Linked DNA regions of Homo sapiens: region 2 is linked to region 1. The links are contacts of gene promoters, found by promoter capture Hi-C in human tissues and cell types (Jung and others, 2019). All regions are on one chromosome and are shown on one strand. The core of a region is centred on a gene start or on the middle of the fragment in contact, and the rest is flanking DNA. Distances in the headings are between cores, read along the strand shown. Region 1 holds the start of ZFP69B (ZFP69 zinc finger protein B). Region 2 overlaps SMAP2 (small ArfGAP2).

Region 1 (7,594 bases), core at 2,186-4,685:
TGCTTTTACTTTAAAACAAAAGTTTACTTTGACTAGGATACGGGGTAATTAAAAAAATTAAAAAGTGAAAAAGAAAACAAAACTTTACTTTCTTGAAATTATACGATGTGTAACATGTACAGCAGGAACCCAACTTGATTTGTTCTTGCTATGGGCTGAGTGTTTGTATTCTGCCACAAACGAGTATGTCGAAGCCCTAACCCCTAAAGTGACTGTATTTGGAGATGAGGCCTTTATAGAAGTAATAAGTTTAAATGAGGTCACAGGGGTGGGGCCCTGATCTGTTAGGATTAGTGTTCTTAAAAGAAGAGACATCAGAGAGCTCACTCTCCTCAAGCACACAAGAAGAGGTCTTGTGAGCATACAAGGAGATGGTGGCTGCCTACAAGCCAAGAGAAAAGGCCTCAGAAGGAAACCTACCTTGCTCACCCCTTGATCTTGGACTTCCCAGCCTCCAGAACTATAAGAAAATTAATTTCTGTTGGTTAAGCCACCCAGTCTATGGTATTTTGTTGTCAGCCAGTGAAGACTCATACTGTTCCCCAAATGGCTAACTAGTTGTCCTAATGATATTTGTTGAATAATCCATCATTACCCAGCTGCTTTGAAACGCCAGCTTTACAATATACTAAATTTAAATAAAGTGTCAAGTCTGTTTCTGAGTTTCCAATTTCATCTCACTGATTTCCGAGTATATTTTGGCACTAGTTTTATTTTGATTATTTTGCCTCCATAATACAAGGTAATATCTGGTAGGGCAAGTCTGCCTTCATTATTGTTGGAAAACATTATTGGCCATTCTGGAACACTTGCCATACTAGCTAAACTTTAGAATCATTTAGTTTAGTAAAAAGAAAAGTTGATTTTCTTTTTTTTTTTGAGATGGAGTCTTGCTCTGTCACCCAGGCTGGAATGCAGTGGCATGATCTTGGCTCCCTACAACCTCCACCTCTTGGGTTCAAGCGATTCTTTTGCCTCAGCCTCCTGAGTAGCTGGGATTACAGACACACACCACCACACCCAACTAATTTTTGTATTTTTAGTAGAGATGAGGTTTCGCCATGTTGACCACGCTGGTCTCGAACTCCTGAGCTCAGGTGATCCACCCGCCTTGGCCTCCTAAAGTGCTGGGATTACAGGTGTGAGCCACCATGTCCGGCCGAAAAAGTTGAAATTTTGATTGGGATGCATCACAGTTTATGTGAACTGGAGGAAGAGTGACATACTTAGAATGTTCTATTTCAACTCGTGAATGTGTTGTATCACTATTCTCACCATTTAAACAAAAAATTTGGAGTTTTATTTATAATTTCCTGCATAATTCTTGTTTATTCTTAGCTGTATTTTTCTGATATTTTATTATGAAAACATATACATATACAGAAAAATTGAAAGAATTTTACATTACGGCATCCCTATACCACTACTTAGATTCTACCATTAACATTTTATTGTATTTCATGCTGTATTTTTGTTGAGTAGCAGATAGGAACATAGACTGCCTGTGTTCACCACTTGTAAGCCACATGATCTTGGCAAGTTATTCAACTTCTCTAAATCTCAGTTTTCTTATCTGTAAAGTGGGAATAATAATAGTACTTACTTCCAGTGGTTTCTGTGATGACAAAATAAGTTAAAATATGAAAGGCACTTAGGACAGAGCCTCATATTCTGTAACTATTATATGCTAGTGTATTCATCAGCTTGGGCTGCTGTAACAAAATACCATTGACTGGGTGGCTTAAACCACGGATATCTGGCCGGGCGCAGTGGCTCATGCCTGTAATCCCAGCACTTTGGGAGGCCGAGGCGGGCAGACACCGAGGTCAGGAGTTTGAGACCAGCCTGGCCAACATAGTGGAACCCCGTCTGTACTAAAAATACAAAAAATTAGCTGGGCGTCGTGGCGGGCGCCTGTAATCCTAGCCACTTGGGAGGCTGAGGCAGGAGAATCGCTTTAAGCCAGGAGGCGAAGGTTGCAGTGAACCGAGGTCACGCCACTGCAGTCCAGCCCTGCGGACAGTGCGAGACTCCATCTCAAAAAAACAAACAAACAAACAAACAAAAAACCGGAAATTTATTTTCTCAGTGTGGAGACTAGAAGCCCCAAGTAAGGTCGAGTTGGGTTCGTTTCTGACTAGGACTATATTCTAACCTTAATTACTTCCATAAAGGCCTTATCTCTAAATACTCTCCAAATACAATGGAGGTTAGGGCTTCAAGATAAATTTTGGGGAATCCAAACATTCGGTTCATAACAGCTAGCAAGTACTATAATTGTATTCTATTTCCTCATTTGTTGTTTTTGTAAACTGTTGATGTAGAAATGTATTTGGAGTGATGTACTCAAATTTTGTTGGAGGGAGAAAACTCAGCAATAAAACAGCATTACAGTATAATCGCTTTTGTGGAAAATATATAACAATGCATGAAATACGTTGTGTGTGTGCAGGAAAGGTTGTACACCAACTGTTAGCAAGGTTACCGCTGCTTGCTGAAATTACAGGCAATAATTTTTTTGTTTTTGTGTATTTTCTGGCATTTCAGAAATACAAGGTAAGCAATAAACATGAGAACTTTTATTGAATACTAGAAGAGAAAACTGTTGTGGTATTCTTTTAACAATATACCGGAATCCATTCAACTGTCTGCTGAGAATAAATAACTGGCATGTACATAATATTTAGGGAAAGTGCTATGGATTATTTTACACCAGTGTCGTTTCACCAAAAAACGTGATGCCGATGGCTCCCTTTTGTCACGGGTTTCAAAGGCTCACCCTAACGTTCACGTGCATTTTCCCAGCGGAGGAAAGATGGTTGTTCTTCATCAGAGTCTGGGGCCCAAGAACGCAGGCTCCATCTCCTCCCGCAGGAGCCAGGCTGATGATGCTCGCAGGGATCGGATACTGGGAGCCCCTGAACGCAGCCAACCCGGCGCGCACCGGTGGGGGCGTCTGCGCTGGCGGAGCGGCTCCCCGGGAGGACGCTGGGAACCATGCTCTAGCCAGCCGCTGCGCAGGCGCACTGGGCCCCGACTGCCCGCCGCAGCGCTACGTGGGAGCTTGGCCGCGCAGTGCCGGAACCCGGCTGCAGCGGTGGGAAGGCGGGGGCGTGCCGGCCCAGCGGGGAGAGGGTGAGCGGGTGGCTGTCCCGGGCTTGGGGAGCTGGGCGAGCCGGGAAGCGCGAGTTCCGCCCGCGGCCACCCTGTCGCGCGCGGTGCTCTCCGCAGCCCCGGAGTCGTGCTCAGACAAAGGCTGGGAGGCTAGGGCCGGGGGCGTTTTGCTTTGTGGGGAGGACTTAGCCTCTCATTTGGGGAGGAGGAGGCGGGGTCTAGCGGTTTCGCGGTTTGCTACAGCCGACTAGTGAAAGAGCTGGGATTCCAAATCCCCGGCTACTTTACACATAATTACTGCCCCAAACAAAGAATTGGGTTGTATTCGTCTCTTTGTGCTTCCTGACATGTGCGCGGTGCTTTGAATTTTGTGGGCTGTGTCTGCCCACCGTCTCCGTGTATCTTTTGGAAACATTTTACAGTGATCCATATATGTTCTAGCGTTCTGCCCTATGACTGAGCCTCCTTAGTCCTTTGCTGATTCTAATGTCTTCTGCTCAGCATCTGCAGGGGCTGCTGAGAGTAAATACTTGGCGCCTCCAGCTGCTGGCCAAGGAGACAGATGGAGCTCAAGTTGGGAGATACGCCCTGAGAGCCGATGATAGACACAAGTCCAGATCTCGGATTTTGATACTGTATGTTCCCTGGGTTCCTGAGAGAGGACATTGAGGAGTAGGAGTCGGCGATTAAGGAGATCGGTACAATTGGGAAGCCTCCTGTCAGAGCTTCCAGCAATTTCCTCATCAGAGGTGGACAAGCCCTATGGGCTAAGACAGAGGGTCCTCAGAAAGGAGTGCGGACGCCGTCATGCTGCAGCAGCTCCTGATCACCCTGCCCACCGAGGCCAGCACCTGGGTGAAGTTGCGTCATCCAAAGGCGGCCACGGAGCGGGTGGCCCTGTGGGAGGATGTGACTAAGATGTTTAAAGCAGAAGGTAAGAATAAACTGATGGGTGGGAGGGAGGAAAAGCAGTCCCCTCTAGTGTGAGAAGGAATGAGTCACTTGAGTGGAAGCATCTCTTAGGGAGACGAGTGGGTGGAGGGTTTCCGGAGTTGTTGATTGTGGCTCCTAGTCTGGGGTTTTCCTAAGTAGTGGTGGTCTTTTCAGCCTAGGACCAGTATTTCAGTGTCATGGTTATGTATATTATTTATTTTCATCTTTCCCATGGCCATGTGGGGCAGGATGGACTTAACCTGATTTTTCTTATTCTAACAGTGGGGAAATGTAAATCAAATGGGAGGCCTGCCCAGGGTCACACAGGAACTTGGTGGCTAGGTCAGAAAGAGAAGCAGCAGGGGAAGTACCAGGTGAGCCTGGAGTAACTTGTGCTAGAAAGCAAGGAAGAGCTTAAAGACTATGGATATGTGTCAAAAGAGGCCAGGTTTAAGGGTCTCTCACTCGACAGATTTGGGAAAGCTTAAGTATCCAAACTGATGGTAACACCTTGAATAAGTAAAATTCCACATGATCACCTTGACACTTAAAATAGAGAAAGACGTGGGGGGGGGGGAATTCATTTGCAAACATTGGAGGTAATTAATACACTGATTCCTTACTTTGAAAAATAGGTTATTATGGGAATGAATGTGCATTTACCTTGCCTTTTAGATCCTCTTCAGTTGGTGAGGGAAAGCTTTTTACAGAAAATGCGTGCCAATAATGAAGGTAGAAAGAGGCCAGGTGTGGTGGCTCATGCCTGTAATCCCAGCAATTTGGGAAGCCAAGGTGGGCGGATTGCTTGAGACCAGGAGTTTGAGGTCAGCAGTTTGAGACCAGCCTGGCCAACATGATGAAACCCCATCTCTGCTAAAAATACAAAAATTAGCTGGGCGTGGTGGCACATGCCTGTAATCCCAGCTACTCGGGAGGTTGAGGCACGAGAATCGCTTGAACTAGGAAAGGGGAGGTTTCAGTGAGCTGAGATGGCGCCACTGCACTCCAGGCTGGGTGACAGAGCAAGACCTTGTCTCAAAAATAAATAAATAAATAAATAAATGTAGAAAGAATGATAGAATCTTTTACCGTAAATAAAATAATTGAAAGGTTAATGGGGAACAGATACTCACATGATATCAAAGTATTATCCCCTCAAATTACTTACTAAATGGCAAGGAATGAACATAATTTTCCAATAGTGAGGTGTGGTGGTCACAGTTTTAATCAAATGTCTCAGTAATGGGATAGCCGGGCATTTTATACTTTGCAGATACTGTAATATAAAGCACCTGGTACCACCTACAAGGTATTCCTACCAAAAATGTTGAACATGATCCTAAATTAAGTTTAAAGACTGAACTGCTGGTTTACAGAAAATACAGGGGATGGAGAAATGAGATAAACCTCACATTGAGGATACAGTCAGACTGTTCTTGTATCTTAAAAAGACAACATCATGAAGAAAGGGGAAGTACTTATTCTAGAGTAAAAGAGACTAGAGGTAACAACCACTTTGAATGTGTGAGCCTTGATTAACTCCTGGTTTGGAAAAAATCCAGAATAAAAGTTGAGGAAACAGTTGAGGAAATCTGAATATGGACTGAATATTTAGATGATACTATGGAATTATTGTTAATTTTCATAGATTTAATAAATAGTACTGTGGTTGTACAAGAGAAGATCCTTATTTGAAATATTTAGGGATAAAGTATTATGATGCAGACGACTTTGAAGTGCTTCAGAAAAAATGTAGATAGGTAAAGCAAATATGGTAAATATTAACAATTGTTGAATCTAGATGTGGATGTATAGATGTTCAATATTCATGATAAAAAGTTGGAATAAAATACAAAGACAGTTATTCATGTGCCTTAATTCCTAGTGGTTTTTTTTTTTTTTTTTTCCTGTCACCCAAGCCGGAGTTCAATGGCTCGATCTTGGCTTATTGCAACCTCTGCCTCCCGGGTTCAAGTGATTCTCCTGCCTCAGCCTCCCAAGTAGCTGGGATTACAGGCGCCTGCCACCACGCCCAGCTAATTTTTGTATTTTTAGTAGAGACGGTGTTTTACTATCTTGGCCAGGCTGGTCTCCAACTCCTGACCTCGTGATCCACCCACCTCAGCCTCCCAAAGTGCTGGGATTACAGGCTTGAGCCACCGGGCCTGGCCTGTAGTGCATATTTTTAATACCTCAATTCAGCCAGTGTTACTTAAATTCTAGAAAGCTGGCAGTGTGTTATGTGTAGCACTTTAGCAGATGGAGAAAAATGAGCAAGGTACAGTTTCTATCCATACCCTCATTAATACTCAACTGAGAGAGATAATTAATTATAAAAAGCAACCTGAGATAGATACTAGAATAGATATAAAAACCAAGCTTTTGGGAAGCATAGGAGAGAATAAACTTTCTTCTCATTAAGGGTGTCTGGGAAAACTTTACTTGAACTGGGCCTGAAGGGTATCGCAGTTTTTCACCAAATAGGATTTGGGTGGGGTACTATCCACATGTATTCAAAGAATGGTACCAGGATTGTGTGGGTAGGTGTGTCCAGTGGATGAAGGATAATGTTTAGAGGAGATAATACTTGGAGAAGCCATGGACTGGTTGTGGAGGATCTTGAAATCTATGTTGATTAGTTGGGCGTGGTGTCACACGCCTGTAATCCCAGCTACTCGGGAGGCTGAGGCACGAGAATCTCTTGAACCTGGGAGGTGGAAGTTGCAGTGAACCAAGATTATGCCACTGCCCTCCAACCTGGGTGACAGAGCAATACTCTGTCTCAAAATCATAATAATAATTAAAAAATAACAAAAAAGAAATCTATATTGAAGTGTTTGCATTTTTCTTTCATGTCAGTGGGGAAACCTTTGAGGATTTTTGAACAAAAGATTGGCCTGAGAGATTACTAAGACCATTGGGAAATATTAATGGTGAAAGCAGCTTGCAGCAGGTCCTCCTTATTAAGGAGGCTTTGAGCTGCTCTTGAGTCCGTCTAAATGTCCCTGTTTGTGAACGTTTTTGGGGAGAAGCCACAATGAGTGGGTCTGTAGGCAGTTTCTCTGTTTGGGTGATTTGGGGAGATGCAAACCTCATGGCTCTTTTCCTTCCCCAGCTCTGCTGTCTCAGGATGCTGATGAGACCCAGGGCGAAAGTTTAGAGAGTAGAGTGACCCTTGGATCCCTGACAGCAGAATCCCAGGTGGGTTGGAGTTTCTGGTCACTTTCTTGACATTGTTTCTCAGATTTTAAGAGCGCAGGAGTTTGATTTTCTTTGACTCAACTTCCTGGATTGGCTTTTCTTTTTTTTTCTTTTTTTCATTATTTTTTGAGACGGAGTCTCACTCTGTCACCCAGGCTGGAGTGCAGTAGCGCAATCTCGGCTCACTGCAAGCTCCGTCTCCTGGGTTCACGCCATTCTCCTGCCTCAGCCTCCCGAGTAGCTGGGACTACAGGTGCCCACCACCACACCTGGCTAATTTTTTGTATTTTTAGTAGAGACGGGGTTTCACCGTGTTAGGCAGATGGTCTCAATCTCCTGACCTGGT
Region 2 (7,594 bases), core at 2,411-4,910, 64 kb before region 1:
TGGTGTGAGCGGAAGCATGGAAAGAGGAGCAGTCTGGTGGCAGCTGGAAGTAGGCCGAGTGAGAGAGCGTATTACCCTGGCTGCTCCCTGCTCCTGCCTCTTATCCTCCTCAGTGCCTCCCATTGATGGAACTTATCCTGAAATCAGTTGGCAAAGGGAGCCTGGGAGATGTAGTTCCCTGTGATCAAGCGGAGCAAGGGAGGGATCCCAGCGCAAACAGGCAAAGACACAAAGGCACTGAATTCTCCAAGATGTAATTTCTTTCCCCTTATAGTATTTGAATTATTTTGGACAAGAGAACGGAAGGGTTTTCCGGCAGATATAACATTGCGTGCTTCTAAAGGATCTTGACTGTTGCTGAAACAATTATTAGTCCCAGGAAGTAATGTAACAACTCAGTCATAGTTTATATACTTAGGGGGTATGACTAGGCAAATTGGCTCCTGTATTGAATATGTATTTGACTGTTGGCTGCTGCCAGGAGCAACTTATCGTTTGGTTACTCAGAAAATAAGTTCCCACCCTGTCAATTCTGGGAAGTCTTAGGTATGGTGTATCCACATTGAGTATATCTACAACTGGACAGCTTGAGTTAGTCACACAGAAGCCATACACAGAAAATGTTGAGGATTGCAGCGTTAAAACATGGTACAGCTCACTCTTTTTTTTTTCTTTCGTTTTTCTGGAGACAGAGTCTTGCTCTGTTGCCCAGGCTGGAGTGCTTTGATGCGATCTCAGCTCACTGCCTCCTCTGGCTCCCGGGTTCAAGTGATTCTCATGCCTCAGCCTTCCAAGTAGCTGGGATTATAGGTGTGTACCTCCATGCCCAGCTAATTATTTGTATTTTTAGTAGACACAGGGTCTCACCACATTGGCCAGGCTGGTCTCAAACTCCTGGCCTCAAGTGAGCTACCTACCCTCCTTGGCCTCCCAAAGTGCTGGGATTGCAGATGTGAGCCACCAAGGCCGGGCCTCAGCTCAGTGTTTTCTTTACAGTTAAGGTAACTGCAGTGTGGCTGTTTTATCTTGTGCTGCATGTTAGTTTAACTAGTCTTATTGATTTGTTTGTTTTACCCCACAACTTCAGATAAGTTTGCACTGGGTGAGGGAGGCAAGATCACTGGGTCTGTTTTCTTCTACCCTGACCTGAAAAAAATATTTTGTCTTGTAAGGAATGTTGCTGCTGCTCCATTTAAGGGCAGAGCTTTCCAAGTTGTGGCTACTTGTTTTCTACGTGATTATAAAAGTGTCTAATGAGTTATATGAGACAAGTTCAGCCCTTTCTAGAAGTGCTTTTTTTGTCAATCAGGTCACCTGCATTTGGGCCCTTGCTATATTAATGGAATTGGTGGAACTAGGCCAGCAGAGTTTTCAGTGCAGTGTGAGTATGTTTGCTTTTAGGCTGTTACTTCCCACAGAGGCCACAGATAAAGGACTCTCGTTGTTTGAGTGAAGTTACCAACTGTAACAATTGCATAGGTTTCCTTGTTTCTTTCTTTTCTCCAAAAAACTCATTTCCTCTTGGCAGGTGTTACTATAATTCACAGGTGTAATGAAAATGTAATTTGGGATTTGAAAAAGCATATCAGACTGCTTCCCAGAGTACCAGTTCTTTTCAGCTGGTCCATTTCAACTTAAGAGGTCCATCTATGCATTTTTGAAGCTTCATATTTAATAAATATAATATTTCACTGCTGTGTTTGACTATTCCGTTTCCCACACTTTCTCCTTCCCTACCCCACTCTTCTGGATCCTGTGTTTCCCCACAGGCTTTGTGAATGCCGGTCCACTGATGGCTGAACTGCAGGTCTCTCCCCAGTGGAAAGCCCCAGAGATGAGCCAGATCTGCCTCAGCTGTGGCCATCCGTCAGCGTAAGGTTGCTCTGGTGGTCGTCTTCAGTTTGTCCAGCTCTTCCCCTTATCCCCCATCCTCCCTCATGTGTGGCTGAAGCTTGCCCTGGAATCCCACCTTTGTAGCATGTCACTCGGTAGTAGTAGAATTTTATTATTGTTGCTTTTTTTCATTTTCAATTAATGTTAAGTGATTCTCTGACAAATTTTGTTGACCATAGCCCTCTTTTCCCCTCAGTTCATAGATTTCCTATAGGAATTCTGGTTTGCTTTTAAATACATATAGAATACAGTTTATTTAAGTTCTGGATTTCATAAGCTTACTTGGAAAATACTTTTTTAAAAAAAACATTTCAGGTCAAAGCTTCCAAAAAGAAATTTCTTAATCTGAAACAATGAGAACTGGGTTCCTCAGGCCTCATGTCATTTCCCCTCACCCACAAATCAAATGTGTAATGCTCTCATTTTATGATGTATTGAAACAGTGAAGCAAATGCGAGAGGGAGAGAGACCTACTCTCAGCTGTAGCTGATAAGTGTGTCCTAGCATGGTGATTTGAGCAAATAGAGCACCTTTTCTTTTCCTTTTCTTCAAATAGCCATGCTGTCTTTTGCAGCAGTTGCTGGTGACGGAATACCATAAATCCCCAGGCCTCTACCACAGAGCTTACATCTTTAGATGTGGGTTTACATGTTAATCCTACAATGTTATTTCACCTCAGTGGTCTGAAGTGCGCACACAGTACATTTTGTTCTTTAACTTCCTCTTTTCTTGTCTAACTGGAAGTCCCCAAATGTGTGGATTTAGAAATGAGTTCTCTAGTGTTTCTAGTTTTGAGTTAAGGAAGTTTTGTCTTGATATTGTTTAGGTGGTTGTTTTTGTTCTGTGCCTTCAAAAATAATTTCTTACAGAATTTTCTGTGTGAACTGGTGACATCATATGCTGTAGTGTAAAGCTTGTAGAGAAGGGGGCATTGGTGTCTTTTTGTTGTTGTTGACACTTTATCACTCCTTATAACTGACACAAACCCTGAGAAGAGAAACAGGAAGGAAACTCCCTGTTCTTACCATGATGCTTTTGTTCAAAATAGCTGAAAACAGCAGAGCTGACGGAAACCAATTTGAGTGTGACAGCTGATTTGAGAAAGAATGAATTAAGAGATTCAGGCTCTTCTGCTATGTTGAAATCATTTTTACTGAAAGATTAGCTGTTTGGAACAGGGATTGACTTTGTCTCTCTGAAAGTAGGCATGAAGAGTTCGGTTAGAGGAACCGTTACAGATGGAGGAGAAACTTGAGGAAAGGTCTTTCCTGTAGTGTGACTACAGTATTAACATTCCCAGATTATATGAAAGAGAAAGGAAGCTTCATTAAATGAAACATTGGAATCAGGAAGACTCCGGCTTGGCTCCCTGAGCATTCTAACTTGTTCTGAGCCTAGTCTCGACAGAAGTAGCCTGACACAAGTGGCTCAGATCAAGGGTCCATATTACGGGCAGAGTAAAAATAGGTCCCAGTTTCATTAGACTTCTCATACATTTAAGGAAAAAAAGATTTGTTGCCATAGGAACAGACCAGTTGTTTTCTGTCTTGTGGGATTTTAGGAGCTGGGGAGATAGGAGGATCCCTGTGCTTATAATCTAAACATCAGTAAATGCTGGTTTTTTTTAAAACAACAACAACTTTATCTTTTATGATTCTGAAACCTATCCACGATAAAAATCATTGGAAAGTATGAAAAATATAATGATGCTGAAGGTATTTTTCATAATTCTTTTTTTTTTTTTTTTTTGGAGACAAGGTCTCTCGCTCCGTCGCCCAAGCTGGAGTACAGTGGCACGATCTCAGCTCACTGCAGCCTCTATCAGGCTTAAGCAGTTCTTCTGTCTCAGCCTTCATAGTAGCTGGGACTACAGGTGCACACCACCACGTCCAGCTAATTTTTGTATTTTTAGTACAGACAGGGTTTTGCCATGTTGCCCAGGCTAGTCTCGAACTCCTGAGCTCACATCATCTGCCTGCCTCGGCCTGCCGGAGTGCCAGGATTACAGGCATCAACCACCATGCCCGGCCTTATTTTTCATAATTCTTATCACCCATTTACTTGAGCTTATACCATAATGATTTTATATCATTCTTTTTTGCTTAACATTTATTATAAGCTTATTTCATGACATTAAAAACGTGTAAATACCTTTATTGTATCCCAGCATTGGAATATGTCATTATTATCTCTTGCCCAATTGTTAATATTTGAATTTTCAATTTTTTAACAATACAAATAAGGAAGTATAAATTTTTGTGTTGTTGTTAGAGTGATGGGTTATTTATGTGTTCAGATTTGAGTAGTCAAGTGGGCCCTCTAATTTAAAAAGTTACCAAGGGGATTCTCTGGGTTGAGCCCACGTAGAGATGGCTTTGCTATGGGCATTATCATTCTGAACTGCTTCATTGCAGTAGATGTCTGCTGAGGCAAGGAATGGGGAATTCGGGAGAACCCTGGTTTCCCCATAAGGGACCTAAGGAACATAAGGGACATAAGGAACAGCTTTATGGGTCATACCACAGCAAGATGGGCCGGCACTTTCACATTGAGAGGTGACAGCGTGCTGGCAGCCCTCACAGCCCTCGCTCGCTCTCGGTGCCTCCTCGGCCTTGGCACCCACTCTGGCCGCACTTGAGGAGCCCTTCAGCCCACTGCTGCACTGTGGGAGCCCCTTCCTGGGCTGGCCGAGGCCGGAGCTGGCTCCCTCGGCTTGCGGGGAGGTGTGGAGGGAGCCAGCTCCGGGAACCGGGGCTGTGTGCCGCACTTGTGGGCCAGCTGGAGTTCCGGGTGGGCATGGGCTTGGCGGGCCCCGCACTTGGAGCAGCCGGCCAGCCCTGCTGGCCCTGGGCAATGAGGGGCTTAGCACCTGGGCCAGCGGCTGCAGAGGGTGTGCTGGGTCCCCCAGCAGTGCCGGCCCACCGGCGCTGCGCTGGATTTCTCACCGGGCCTTAGCTGCCTTCCCACGGGGCAGGGCTCGGGACCTGCAGCCCGCCATGCCTGAGCCTCCCCCCACCTCTGTGGGCTCCTGTGCAGCCTGAGCCTCCCCAACGAGACCGCCCCCTGCTCCACGGCACCCGGTCCCATCAACCACCCAAGGGCTGAGGTGTGTGGGCGCACAGCGCGGGACTGGCGGGCAGCTCCACCTGCAGCCCCAGTGCGAGATCCACTGGATGAAGCCAGCTGGGCTCCTGAGTCTGGTGGGGCCTTGGAGAACCTTTATGTCTAGCTCAGGGATTGTAAATACACCAGTCGGCACTCTGTATCTAGCTCAAGGTTTGTAAACACACCAATCAGCACCCTGTGTCTAGCTCAGGGTTTGTGAATGCACCAATCGACACTCTGTATCTAGCTACTCTGGTGGGGACTTGGAGAACCTTTGTGTGGACACTCTGTATCTAGCTACTCTTGGTGGGGATTTGGAGAACCTTTGTGTCCACACTCTGTATCTAGCTAATCTGGTGGGGATGTGGAGAACCTTTGTGTCTAGCTCAGGGATTGTAAACGCACCAATCAGCACCCTGTCAAAACAGACCGCTCCGCTCTACCAATCAGCAGGATGTGATTGGATGGGGCCAGATAAGAGAATAAAAGCAGGCTGCCCGAGCCAGCAGTGGCAGCCTGTTCGGGTCCTCTTCCACAGTGTGGAAACTTTGTTCTTTTGCTCTTTGCAATAAATCTTACTGCTACTCACTCTTTGGGTCCACACTGCCTTTATGAGCTGCAACACTCACCGCGAAGGTCTGCAGCTTCACTCCTGAAGCCAGCGAGACCACGAACCCACCGGGAGGAACGAACAATTCCAGACGCGCTGCCTTAAGAGCTTTAACACTCACCGCGAGGGTCCACAGCTTCACTCCTGAGCCAGCGAGACCACGAACCCCACCAGAAGGAAGAAACTCCGAACACATCCGAACATCAGAAGGAACAAACTCCGGACACGCCGCCTTTAAGAACTGTAACACTCACTGCGAGGGTCCACGGCTTCATTCTTGAAGTCAGTGAAACCAAGAACCCACCAATTCCGGACACAACATTATATACCTGATGTGCGGAAATACCCTTGCGCCATTGACTAGCATCTTATGTTGTTCATACAGTCCTCATTCACTTAAACTTAGTCCTCTAAGGAGGTGGATTAGAGGTCCTACATTAGTAGAAAGGAGGTAACAGCTACTGCATTATTATTTTTTTTTTGAAGAAGGGCCCTCAGACTGGAGATGAGGACAGGGACTGTGTTTTCATGTCTATCTGCATACTTAATGCACGGTGTCTGGCACATAGTGTCTATGTCCCTATTATGAGCAGCATTATTCTGTTAATGTGTGTTCAGGTCATATGCTTTGTTTTGTTTTTTGATAGTCTTCCTCATACTGTTAGCCCAGATAGCTGAAGATCTGTGACACCAGGAAGCTGAGCAGGTGAATCTCATGGTTGCTTTGTGGTAATTGCTTCTTTGTGCCATTTCATTTCTGTGCTTCTGCCACCTGTGCTGCTTTGGAAGCTGGAGCTAGACATGAAGCGAATCCTCTGCCCTCTCAGTAGGAGGTTTTGGTGTGACACATCATCCTGGGGAAAAATGTAGCATGAAGTGTGAAACAGGAGGCTGAAATAGCAGTCCTTTAGCCCTTTTGTGGGATGGGAGTAAATATTTAGACGTGGTTCTCAGGTGCTGTAGAATTTAATAACCTTGCAGCAGTTTTAGAAACTCCTTGTGCCCACTGGAACAGGTTCGTTTAAAGAATCTTACTTGGGCTCTTTTGAAATTGTGATGCCCCCACCTCCACCCACTCCCCTCCCCCGCCCACCCCCAGACCTGCCCTGAGTTCATCTGCCTAATGTTCCCTTTGCAGGATCTTTGTACTCACATGGCTGGTATCTTTGCCCCACCCCCTTATGCCATATATTTTGACCTCATTGTGTTCTATTCTGAAACGCCTGGGTTTTGAAACATCGTGGTGAATGTTTTCTTTTTCAAAGGGCAAATCTCCATCTTTTGCTCTCCTCCCTTAAGCCAGGGCTGTTTTGATGACTGATATTCTGCACACCACTGGACTAACCAACCATCTGTACTTTGATCCCAGAATTCATTTTGATTCTGCTGTTTGTTTAGAACTGAAAGCTTTCTAGCTTGTTTGGATGTGGTTGTGATTCAGTGAAACTGGCACTGATTTTCCATCTGTTTGCCATTGGTTGGGACTTCTCCAATGTGTTAGGAAAGCTGCTGTGCTGAGTTGCGAAGAGAAATTCACATGTCCATGGTCTTGCACAAGGGCTCATTTGCTCACTTAGAAGGTTTTATGTAGAGCCTCTGCCTGGGTGAAAGACATGAGCTTCCCTGGAAACAATTGAAAAACATCTTCTGCCTGGCCACTCAGTCTTGAGCTCTAGTAGGTTACACTGTTTTTCCCTTCTGGGCTTCTTTTTGAGGAAGGGGAGTGTGGATGGGAAGAAATCTTCACAATCAGTCTCAGATTCCCAGCAGCAGAGAGTGAATTGTATGTTGTAATAATAAAAAAAAGAATACCTAAAGAACAAGATATCAATTTAGTGACCATTATTGAGCATTTACTATGTATAACACACATTTGGGTGTGTAAAGGTGATTCTAATTTCAGTCCAGCTGATCCTTTCTTCTGTGAACTTGGGCAAATGACTTGACCTCTCTAGGCCTTAGTTTCTCCAACTGTGCTTAGACTAG

What was found. Contacts are between HindIII fragments. The study calls those that stand out against the background at their distance.
Region 2: a fragment that was not itself captured here is called in contact with the fragment with the promoter of ZFP69B in region 1 in 2 of the 25 tissues and cell types used here (aorta and hippocampus).

The regions. Positions count from the first base shown.
Region 1 is chr1:40,447,041-40,454,634 of GRCh38, forward strand. ZFP69B (ZFP69 zinc finger protein B) reads left to right here and starts at 3,436. Exons shown (of 5, transcript NM_023070.3): 1 at 3,436-4,048; 2 at 7,163-7,248. The coding sequence starts at 3,922. It overlaps ZFP69B-DT (ZFP69B divergent transcript), which reads right to left and starts at 2,999. Exons shown (of 5, transcript NR_198977.1): 1 at 2,780-2,999. RefSeq lists a silencer at 3,055-3,314 and an enhancer at 3,530-4,729. The HindIII fragment of the contact is 23,553 bases long and covers 1-5,586 here.
Region 2 is chr1:40,383,230-40,390,823 of GRCh38, forward strand. The region is part of intron 1 of SMAP2 (small ArfGAP2); the gene reads left to right. Among named protein-coding and RNA genes, the nearest start is that of SMAP2, 13 kb to the left of the region's middle. RefSeq lists an enhancer at 2,516-2,785. The HindIII fragment of the contact is 3,706 bases long and covers 1,808-5,513 here.